4 separate regions of the Homo sapiens genome follow, and all the other regions are linked to region 1. The links are contacts of gene promoters, found by promoter capture Hi-C in blood cells and fetal thymus (Javierre and others, 2016). All regions are on one chromosome and are shown on one strand. Each heading gives the region's core, a stretch centred on a gene start or on the middle of the fragment in contact. The rest is flanking DNA. Distances are from core to core; before and after follow the strand shown.

Region 1 (2,634 bases), core at 90-2,589:
AAGCGTCTTGGAAGAGCAGCCCACTCTCCACCCAGCTGGCAGCTAAGTGGCTGGTAGTGTTGATTTCATTGTCTGCCTCAGCTTGGGTTCTCTCGGAAAGTCTCTGAGCCAAAGATTTGAGTGCAGGTAATTTATTAGGCACTTGCTCCCAGGCAAAAACGGTCAGGGGTGGGAGGATGAAAGGGAAGAAACCAAAAGTTGCAGAAGCATTGTCCTCGCAGCTAACATGGCCGCGTGCAAACGTGCCAGCCAGCAAGATGTTGGCATCGCCCTCTCAGCTAACATGGCTACCTGTGGAAGTGCCAGCCAGCAGGATGTCGGCATGGCCCTCGCAGCTAACATGGACACGTGCGAACGTGCCAGCCAGCAGGATGTCAGCATCCTCCTTGGAGCTGACATGGCCACGTGCGAACGTGCCAGCCAGCAGTAGTCGGCATGGTGCTGAGCACCCTCCGGGAACCGTCCCTACCTGAAATATGGGTGTGATGTACGGAGCACACGCAGCCACCCTGCAGCATGAGATGACTGTTGAGTACAGGACACGCAGAACGAAGCTGGAAAATGAAAAAAAAAAATCCTGGCTTGCTGACTTCCTGGGGCAAATACTGAGTGTTGGGAGATCATTTCCAGACTTAAATATGAGAGAGAAGTAAACCCCCCTTTTATTTCAAAGCTTAGCATGCCTATAAGTCACCTGCAGATCTTGTCAAAATGCAAGCTCTGACCAGAGAGCCCGGGCTTGTGACTTACATCATCTCCTGCTGAAATGCTGACGACACTCCAAATGGCAAGGGTTTTGGCCTCTATTATTTGGGGTTTTCTATCATTCACCATTGAAACTAATCCTCACTAATTAAAACAGTTTCACATTGGGGAGGAAAATAGTTTTTGTCTACTTTAAACTACTATGACTTAGGGTCTGTCAAAACCTCAAAAACTATATATATATATATTTCATTTCACTCGCTTTCATTTGGGACACAAATGGAGACCTGAATCACAGGTATCTTTGGAAACTGTTCTCAGCCTTCCTAGCTCAGCTGAAATGTCCTTTTCCAGGGACACTGGGCCCAGGGGGTGTGCTGGGGTCTGCGCTGGCTCCCCGGGCATTCATACCTTGGAAAGCTGCAGAGCTGACTTCAGGTTGTGCCAATTCCTGTGCTGCCTCATCCCTCATGTACATAAAGCGTGAGGCGCGCAGGCCTGCACCTGCGCCATCCCTCATCCACCTAAAGCGCGTGGCGCGCAGGCCTGCGCCGGCGCCATCCCTCATCTACGCAAAGCGTGCGACGCTCAGGCCTGTGCCTGCGTCATCCCTCATCTACGCAAAGCGTGCGACGCTCAGGCCTGCGCCGGCGCCATCCCTCATCTACGCAAAGCGTGCGACGCTCAGGCCTGTGCCTGCGTCATCCCTCATCTGCCTAAAGCCCTGCGCGCAGGCCTGTGCTTGCGCCATCCCTCATCTGCATAAAGCGTAGGGCGCGCAGGCCAGTGTGTTGGAAAACAACGCTTTGATGTTGTCTCCTGGATTTTCACAGCCTCCCTCTCACAGGAGAACAGGGGTGGACCCCGGCCTCGAGCACATCTGAGCTCTCTCTCTCCTGCCTGTGCTCCTGTTGAAGACATTCAGCCTCCGACTGCCCTCGGGAGGATGGAGATGCCCAGGTGCCGAGGCCAGAGCCCATGCGCAAAGCGAGGGCTGAGACCACGGAGGCCCCTTGTCTCCTCCAGCGGGTTCCTGAAGCCACGTCCCTGCTTGTGGAGGAAGAAAGCCGAACTGCAGCTCAGGGAGAGGTGGGCTTGCTGGCCTCGCTGGCGGCATCCGAATGCCTGGAGCCTCATGGTGGGTTCTGCTATTGCTGCCAGCAGCTGGATGTTTCGAAATTCGCCCGCTTTGGAATGATACAGTGAGACCTTGGCGGCCGCGCTGCCTGAGACGATGCTCTTACGTCTGCAGGGGAGGTTTCAAGGCCTGCTGGAGTCAGCGGCTGCCTTGCCGCCCTGGGAGGTGAGCAGCCCGTCCCTATGCTGGCTTCCTACAGGATGCAACCTGCATTTTCACCCCAGACAGACGCAGTCTTGGCCATCTGCTTGCCAGCATAGAAAATGCGTTGTTTCCCCCAAGTTTATTTTGGTTAATGGATTGAATTGGTTTTTTTAAACTGCATTGCTTTGAAACATCACTGGAGTTTTTCAGTTTTCATATTACTACATTTTTGATGTATTATCATTGAAATGCTATTTTAATGACGGTCAAAGCGGCTCCCAAGCCCTCCTTCACTGGTGAAGCACCAAGGTGCTCAAGTGAGCTCCCAGTGTACATGAGGGTGCTCTCGCTTTTGAAAAAAAGTGAAGGAGGCTGGGCGCGGTGGCTCACACCTGTAATCACAGCACTTTAGGAGGCTGAGGCAGGCGGATCACGAGGTCCGGAGCTCCAGACCAGCCTGGCCAGCATGGTGAAACCCCATCTCTATTAAAAATACAAAAATTAGCCGGGCATGGTGGCATGCACCTGTGATCCCAGCTACTCAGGAGGCTGAGGTAGGAGAATCGCTTGACCCCAGGAGGTGGAGGTTGCAATGAGCGGAGATTGTGTCATTGCACTCCAGCCTGGGCAATAGAGTGAGACTCCAA
Region 2 (2,634 bases), core at 135-2,634, 1.9 Mb before region 1:
CCGCTCCAACCCTGTGCAGTGCGCGGCCCCGAAACGGGAGGAAATCCGCCATCCGGGCCTTTCCACGCATCTGCGGCAGGAGGAACCGGGAAAACAAAAATCAAAACCCAGCTCGGGGCGCGCCGCGTCTCCAGCCTGCGCGATCGCTAAGGCTCCCAGGTTGCGTTCGCCTGGGAAGCGCCGATCTACCCGCCAGGGATTGCACGGATCGGGACACTCCATCATCCGGGCACCGGCGCCCCCACGTGCACCCGGGGCCTGGGGCGCGCCGAGTCTCCGCCACCTTCCGCTCTTCAATGTTAAATATCCTCCCGGCGCGCCCGCGTCCGTGGGCCCAGCCTCGGGCCCCTCCTAGAGAGCAGCTTCCACATTGCAGGGCAGGGAAGCCCGGAGCCCGCGCCGCGGCGCCGCTGACATCCCGGAGTCCCCGCTTCCTGATCCTTCCCGTCTGCGGAGGCTGGCGGGGAGGGCCTGGGACCCATTTTGGTTTTCGTTTTTGTCACGAGCCGGAAGGCGACAGCACATGCGAGCGCAGGAAACCCTTTTTAAAAATCTCCCAGCGGAAACGCGAGGGGCTGCCGGACCGCCCTGGAGACGCCAGGCGGGAACCCCGCGCACCCCCGCCGCGTCCCGCATTGCAGCAGCCAGGACCCCGCCCACGCCGCGCAGGGCACGAGGCGACAGGAGGCGCGCGGGGACCCAGCCGTTTCTTCCTCGACATTCTAGGGGGTGGCGTGCGGCGGAGTTGGGGGGCGGGGGGGCACTTAGGAAGTGATCGCGCTGTACCCACGCTTCGGAGGGGACGCCCGGCCCCGTCCTACAGCTCAGAGGCAGAACGACCCCCGAGGGCGCTTCAGGCGACTCCCTCTGCCAGGTTCCATTTAAAACAAAACCGAAGGTGGAAAACTCACTGATCTTCCGGATGGAGGTTCCTACCGCCATGTCCCTTCCTCCCCCGCCCCACCGGGCAAGGACCCCGGGGCTGCCTCGCCGGCTCATGCCGCCCCGCAGGTACCCCTGCCGCTTCCGGGCGCGGGCTTCTTCCCGGTTCTCCCCATCGCTTCCCCGCTCTTCTCCCCGGTTCTCCCCATCGCTTCGCCACCTTTCCCCGGGTCCCCCCCATCGCTTCCCCCCTCTTCTCTCCGGTCACCCCATCGCCTTCGCCCGGTTCTCCCCAGCTCCGTCCGTCCGTCCCTCCCTCGCCGCCGGGAGGGGGGCGCGCACCTTGAGCATCCCCGCCGCTGGTCAGCACGCCGATGGCCTTGCCGGCCCCGGAGAGGTGCTCCAGGAACTTCCGCAAGGAGCCCTTGGGGGCCCGGGAGTCGTCCGCGTCCATGGCGAGGAGGCCGAGGGGAGCCGCACGTCCGGGTGCGCAGCAGGCAATGGGGACCCTGCCCGCGCGCGCCTGACTCGGAACCGCCGCCCCGCCCGCGCCCCCGCCCGGCCCCAGCGCCAATGGGCGGTGACGGGCGGGGCCCGAGCGTATGGGAGGGGCTGCGGGGGAGGGGGCGCGGGCGCGGCTAGGGGCAGGGGCCGGGGCTGGGGCGGGTGTGGGCAGGAGCATCTACGCGGGGGTCGTCGTAGGTGGGGGCCGCGCTAGCGGTGCGGGAGGCGGCAGAGGCAGGGGTAGCGCCACAGGTGGGCGGGTCCCTGCTAGTGGGGCCGCATCGCAGGTGCGCGAGCCTCGCGGGTGGGCTGGAGGACTCTGGTTGGGGGCTCTAGAGATGACGGGAGCGCCACAGGTGGGGCAGGGGCAGCGTCCGGAGGAGGGGAGACCGCAGGGGGCCGGGGTCACATCGTTTGCGGGGCGCGCCAGGGCGGGGCGGGATAGAACGCCGGGAGCATCTCCCGGGGGGGCGAGGGAGACCGTGAGTGGGCGCGAGCGCCGGGGCGGGTGGAAACCCCGCAGTTGCGGGGAGCGCCGATGGCGGGGAGGGGTGGAATGGGGGCGCGGAGACCCCACCTGGACGCGGAGGCTCGCGGCAGGCCCGGCCGCTCGGGCCGTTGTGGGGGCCGAGCCCGGCCGCGCGCACAGCTTCTAGTGGCCCGCAAGATTCCTCCTGGGGCGGCGCTGGGAGCCTCGGGGCTCGGCTTCCTCGACCCCCGCCCCCAGGTTTCCTCTGCAGCCTGAGGTCGGGAAGGACGGACGGAGAGTGGATCCTCCAGGTGGTGGGAAAAGGTGAGCGTGGCGGGCTGGGCCATGACGAAGCTGCCATTTCCCGGGCCCATGGGGGCTGTGGTGCTCCTGGGCCCCCAGCCCCGCCCTTGGGGGGAAGAAGCCGTGGGGTGGAGGAAGGTATCGGGGCGCGACCCTCAGAGACGCCCTGGCGGCGCCCCGGCCTGGGCGCTGGAAAGTCAGAGTGGGGCAGGAGGAGGCGCAACAGGACTGGCCTGGCGGGGAGGCGGGGAGGCGGGAGGACCCTCCCTCCCCACGGACACGCGCGCTGCTGTACGCTCTGCCTGACCTCGGCCGGCTCCACTGGCCAGCTCCACGTACTGAAATACTCACATCCAATGCACTGTGCGGTTGCCCATCCACAGCTTAACAGCCTGGTGCCAGTTACCCTGCGATGGGAGAGGGGGCAGCCCCCATAGAAGCACGGGCTTATGGGACCCGGGTTCCTTCAGTGCTCA
Region 3 (2,634 bases), core at 53-2,552, 1.9 Mb before region 1:
AAAGGAAAAGTCCCCCTACAGATGTGTAAATGAATGACTTGACTCAAACTTTTTTTTAAAATTTTTTTTTAAGAAAAGACGCTCCAAGACATAGGAGCAATCAATGTTACTGTTAAAGGAGGGGGCAGGCTTCAATGTTATCGTGAAGGACACTGGAATGTTGCTGTTTATTAATTTTGGGTTGTTTTACTTTTGTAGAAGGGGAAGTTGAGATAGTTGGCATGCAAAGCACATGTTGTCAGCTTTAGCTATTTTAATCGCAGTGAGAAATGGAATTAACTGCTGAACCAAAACCACTGGAGAATAATTAGGGTCACTATTTTTCCTGAATCATGGATTTCCTAATCTTCAGAAGACTCGGGCATTTTGACTCATTTGACTACTTCAGTTTCCTCAAATTTTCTTATTAAAACTATTTAAAATAATATAGCAATAAAGAGGAACTTCCAACAATACCTCTTCACTGTATCTCAGCGTCTACTTTGTTGAACAAGAATACCATGAATGTCTGACCTTTACATCGTTGAAACTTTTTTCTAAAAATCAGTCATGCTTGATCCAGAAGATAATTTATATCCTTAAAGTCTCCTTTCACAAGAGTTCTGTGGGTGCACTGAGGAACACAAGGCTTTATCTATTATAGAAGGTAAAAGAATGTCCACGAACAACCTTTTGTTCTCCCAAGTTGGTCACCTTTACTAATTACATCCAGCAAGTCCTGGGCAGATCCTAATATGACCTAACTTAGAATCCTATTGGTCAGTCTGGGGATCTTCTCCTAAAGAAGTTTGGTACTGGCAAATACTAGGTCTCAGTAACATGATCCCAATGTGAGCATTGTCTCTTGTACTGACATTTCTATTTTACTGATTTTTTTTTTGTAAGTGTTGTGCTGTGTGCCAGGCACCACGCCAAGCCCTTTAGCATTTCTAATTTACGTAATCATCCTAATAACCTCATGAGGAAAGTGCCATAGTGTTCCCACTCACTGGACAAGGACACTGAGAGAGACGCCATCTGCCTATTTGTCCATGGCACCAGGGCTGTGCCTCCCTGGGCTCGTGGGCCATGGGCTGCAGCACAGCCTCTGCTGTTATTCTTAAGGACCTCTTGATATGCAGTCAGTTTTCTATTTCTTTCTTTTTTTTTTTTTGGTTTGTTTGTTTTTGAGACGGAGTCTCACTCTGTCACCCAGGCTGGAGTGTAGTGACATGATCATGGCTCACTGCAACCTCCACCTCCTGGGTTCAAGCGATTCTCCTGTCTCAGCCTCCCGGGTAGCTGGAACTACAGGCACACACCACCACACCTGGCTAATTTTTGCATTTTTAATAGAGACGGGGTTTCAGCATGTTGGCCAGGCTGGTCTCGAACTCCTGACCTCAAGTGATGCGCCTGCCTCGGCCTCCCAGAGTGCCAGGATTACAGGTGTGAGCCACCTGCCTGATCTGGTTTTATATTTCTAAATGTAATAGAACGTAATTTCTGGATAAAGAGTTTGGGCTGTTGAGCCAGATTTGGGTTTGAATTGAGCTCAGCTGCTTATTAGCTGGGCGAAGTTCAGAAACATGGTCACTTTCCTTTGAGTCTTTGTCTTATCTGTGACATAAAAATAAGTCAACCTGTAGGGATAATGACATAATTAGAAAAAAATACACCAAACACTACAGATGGCACCTGACTCTTAGTAGCACTTGGTAGGACCTATTTAATAATGATCGATTAAATATTAATAATAAGGCAAACAGGGATAGAAAAAATGTGGCTACAAACAAGAGACCTGGAAATCACCACCCCATCCACAAACAATTGGGTCAATAATTGAATGCTGTTTTGTTTTCCAATCCTACCAGCTTCAATAAATATAGACTGCCGTATCTCTATGCATCAGACATGTCCATCCTTTGGTTGAGCGAGACACAGGGTGAGTGAGTCTTACTGCATTTACTTTTCCCCCCTGTAACATGTAATCGGTCTCTTGTTTTCTCGAATTGATCAGTTTCAGAATGGCTTCCAAGATATTCATGGAATAACAAACTATTTATTGGTGGCAGAAATATCGTATCCTCAGCCTTCAATGGGCTCAAAGGAAAAAACACCTGCTCCTTAAGTCTCCATGGGCTCAGCTCTTGATCACCGGCTTCTTGAACAACAGTCCCATCTGTGTGGCGGTCCTGATGTTGTATTTTATATTTTATTAAAATACACAGGTGATACGCACTCGCAGGTGCATACATGTCCTATCCTGGTCTGTGATTTTTCTGTCCAAGATGGTGGCTGTTGTACCCTTGATTTTCTGAAGTCACCAGCACACAGCCTCAGTGCCAGTGGTCATCAGCCGTGTTATCAGCTTTCAGGTATGAATTGCCATCACTTTATTGTTTTCTTACTTGGCATGCTTTTTTTTTCAATAGTTTTTGGGGTAGAAGTAGTTTTGTTTACACATTTTTTAGTGGAGATTCCTGAGATTTTAGTGCACCTGTCACCCAAGCAGTATACACTGTACCCAAGGTGTAGTCTTTTATCCCTCAGACCCCAACCTTCCCCCCCGCCGAGTCCCCAAAGTCCATCATATCATTCGTATGTCTTTGCATCCTCATAGCTTAGCTCCCACTTATAAGGGAGAGCATACGA
Region 4 (2,634 bases), core at 41-2,540, 1.8 Mb before region 1:
TCTGGAGAGAAGCAGAGGTTGATTGTTCAGGGGGGCAGAGTGTAGGGACACCACAGTCTAAACAGAGACGGGGGTGCATGCAGAACGCCTCCTGCAGCAGGAAACAGGCACGTGCAAGGAAGTAAGCAAGAGAGAAAGCGGCGCAAGACAAGACAAGAACGAAGGCAGGCAGGAAGGGGCTGGGAGATTATGGTAGATGCTTTTTTCTCTTAATAACAGCAATGGGACGCTGTTGAAAGCACTTGAGGGAGGTGGGGAAGTGAGTATGACATACTTTGTGTTTGTAAAATTATCACATTGTCTTACCAAACTAAATATACTCTTTATTTATCATTATTATTATTATTTATTATTATTTTCTTTTTGAGACGGAGTCTCGCTCTGTCGCCCAGGCTGGAGTGCAGTGGCGCGATCTCGGCTCACTGCAAGCTCCGCCTCCCAGGTTCACGCCATTCTCCTGCCTCAGCCTCCCGAGTAGCTGGGACTACAGGCACCCGCCACCACGCCTGGCTAATTTCTTGTATTTTTTTGGTAGAGATGGGGTTTCACCGTGTTAGCCAGGATGGTCTCGATCTCCTGACCTCGTGATCCGCCCACCTCGGCCTCCCAAAGTGCTGGGATTACAGGCGTGAGCCACTGCGCCTAGCCTTTTTTTTATTTTTTAATTTTACTTTAAGTTCTGGGATACATGTGCAGGTCTGTTACACAGGTATACATGTGCCATGGTGGTTTGCTGCACCTATCAACCTGTCATCTAGGTTTTAAGCCCTGCATGCATTAAGTATTTGTCCTAATGCTCTTCCTCCTCTTGCTGCCACCCCCCAACAGGCCCCAGTGTGTGATGTTCCCCTCCCTGTGTCCATGTGTTCTCATTGTTCACCTCCCACTCACGAGTGAGAAAATGTGGTGTTTGGTTTTCTGTTCCTGTGTTAGTTTACTGAGAATGATGGTTACCAGCTTCATCCCTGTCCCTGTAAAGGACAAGAACTCATTCTTTTTTATGGTTGCATAGTATTCCATGGTGTACACGTGCCACATTTTGTTTATCCAGTCTATCATTGATGGGCACTAGATATACTCTTAACATGTGATCCAGCAATTGCATTTATCCAAAGGAGTTGAAAACTTGTGTTCACAGAAAAACCTGCACATGGACGTTTACAGAAGCTTTATTCATAATTGCTAATTTTATAGCAGCTTTATTCATAATTGCTCAAACTTGGAGGCAACCAAGAAACCAAAATATTCTTCAGTAGGTGAGTGGATAAATAATGTGATATATCCAGACAATGGAATATTCTTTAACACCGAAAAGAAATGAGCTATCAAGTCATGAAAAGAAATGAAGGAACTTTAAACACATACGACTACACGAAAGATACCCATCGGAAAAGACTAAATACTGTAAGCTTCCAACTAAAGGACATTCTGAAGAAGGCCAAACTATGGAGTGAAAATATTAGTGGTTCCCAGGTGTTGGGAAGAGGGAGAGATGATCAGGTGGAACATGGAGGATTTTTAGGATTTTAGTGCAACTGCTCTGTATGACGCTATGATGGTGGATACATGTCATGATACATTTGTTACACCCATAGAACCAGCACCAAGAGTGAGCCCTCATGTAAACTGTGGACTCTGGGTGACAATATGTCAATGTAGGTTCTTCAATTGTTACTAATGCTCCCTCTGGGCAGGAGTGTTGTTAGTGGAGGAGGCTGTGCATGTGGGGGAACGGAAGGCATATAAAAGGACTCTCAGTACCTTTCCCTCAATTTTTCTGTAAACCTAAAACTGCCTAAAAGATAAAGTGTATTTTTAAAAAATAAAGAAAAAAAACCCCTAAAAATCCTCACAAAAATCAAATGAGAAAATGATCACACTGGATGCTTCCGGTCAAAATGGAAGAACAAGGGCTGTATTTACCATCCCACCAGATGGCTTTTTTCCTTACTGCTTTTCAGCATTGTTTTGGAGTCTAGCCAGTGCAATAAGGCAAGTTGAAATATATAAAACACACCTTTACTAGAAAATAAGATTTAAAACTATCTGTATCTGCAGGTGACCTAATCACCTATGTGGAAAATCTCCTGAAGTCACAAAAAGCCACTAAAACTAATAATAATAAATTACTTACTAATAAATGAGTTTGGAAAGTTTGCAAGATACAAGATCAACACACAAGCAGTATTTATCTCTTTATACACTGGCATGAAATAATTGGAAATGGAAATTTACAAAGCAATATTATTTATAGCACATCAAAAAATGAAATATTTAAGACTAAATCTGACAAAAGATGTGTAAGATCTATACACTGAAAAGCAGGCAGTGACGCTGAGATAAATTAAATAACTAAATAAATGAAGTGATATACTGTGTTCATGGATCAGCAGGCTCAATATTGTTAAGATGTCAATTGTGCCCTTGTGGATCTACAGGTTTAATGCAATTCCAGTCAAAATCCCAGCATGATTTTATTTTATTCTATTTTTTTTTCAGTAGAAATGAACAAGCAGTTTCCAAAACGTGTCTGGAAATTCAAAGAACCCAAAAAAGCTAAGACAACTTGGAAAAAAAAAGGTGGAGGACTTACCTTAACTATCAAGATAGTGTGGTATTGGTATAATAAGAGAA

Evidence for each region. Contacts are between HindIII fragments. The CHiCAGO score rates a contact against its expected background, and 5 or more counts as called.
Region 2: a contact is called between the fragment with the promoter of PFKP here and the fragment with the promoter of LINC00200 in region 1, in 8 of 17 cell types (endothelial precursors, naive B cells, M0 macrophages and 5 more). The highest score is 11.1, in endothelial precursors.
Region 3: a contact is called between a fragment that was not itself captured here and the fragment with the promoter of LINC00200 in region 1, in 1 of 17 cell types (endothelial precursors). The highest score is 7.2, in endothelial precursors.
Region 4: a contact is called between a fragment that was not itself captured here and the fragment with the promoter of LINC00200 in region 1, in 1 of 17 cell types (total B cells). The highest score is 5.1, in total B cells.

Annotation. Positions count from the first base shown.
Region 1 is chr10:1,158,473-1,161,106 of GRCh38, reverse strand. It overlaps LINC00200 (long intergenic non-protein coding RNA 200), which reads right to left and starts at 1,339. Exons shown (of 3, transcript NR_015376.2): 1 at 1,117-1,339; 2 at 470-554. LOC105376344 (a long non-coding RNA gene) reads left to right here and starts at 1,345. Exons shown (of 3, transcript XR_930535.3): 1 at 1,345-1,843. The HindIII fragment of the contact is 5,498 bases long and covers 676-2,634 here.
Region 2 is chr10:3,066,298-3,068,931 of GRCh38, reverse strand. It overlaps PFKP (phosphofructokinase, platelet), which reads right to left and starts at 1,384. Exons shown (of 22, transcript NM_002627.5): 1 at 1,225-1,384. The coding sequence starts at 1,336. It overlaps LOC124902536 (wiskott-Aldrich syndrome protein family member 1-like), which reads right to left and starts at 2,362. Exons shown (of 1, transcript XM_047426132.1): 1 at 1,584-2,362. The coding sequence starts at 2,229. The coding sequence ends at 1,792. PFKP-DT (PFKP divergent transcript) reads left to right here and starts at 1,999. Exons shown (of 4, transcript NR_160681.1): 1 at 1,999-2,179. RefSeq lists silencers at 1-132, 546-725, 1,146-1,545, 1,556-1,655 and an enhancer at 276-345. The HindIII fragment of the contact is 10,799 bases long and covers 1-2,634 here.
Region 3 is chr10:3,032,501-3,035,134 of GRCh38, reverse strand. No RefSeq gene overlaps it. Among named protein-coding and RNA genes, the nearest start is that of PFKP-DT, 33 kb to the left of the region's middle. The HindIII fragment of the contact is 4,100 bases long and covers 1-2,634 here.
Region 4 is chr10:2,939,993-2,942,626 of GRCh38, reverse strand. No RefSeq gene overlaps it. Among named protein-coding and RNA genes, the nearest start is that of PFKP-DT, 130 kb to the left of the region's middle. The HindIII fragment of the contact is 242 bases long and covers 1,170-1,411 here.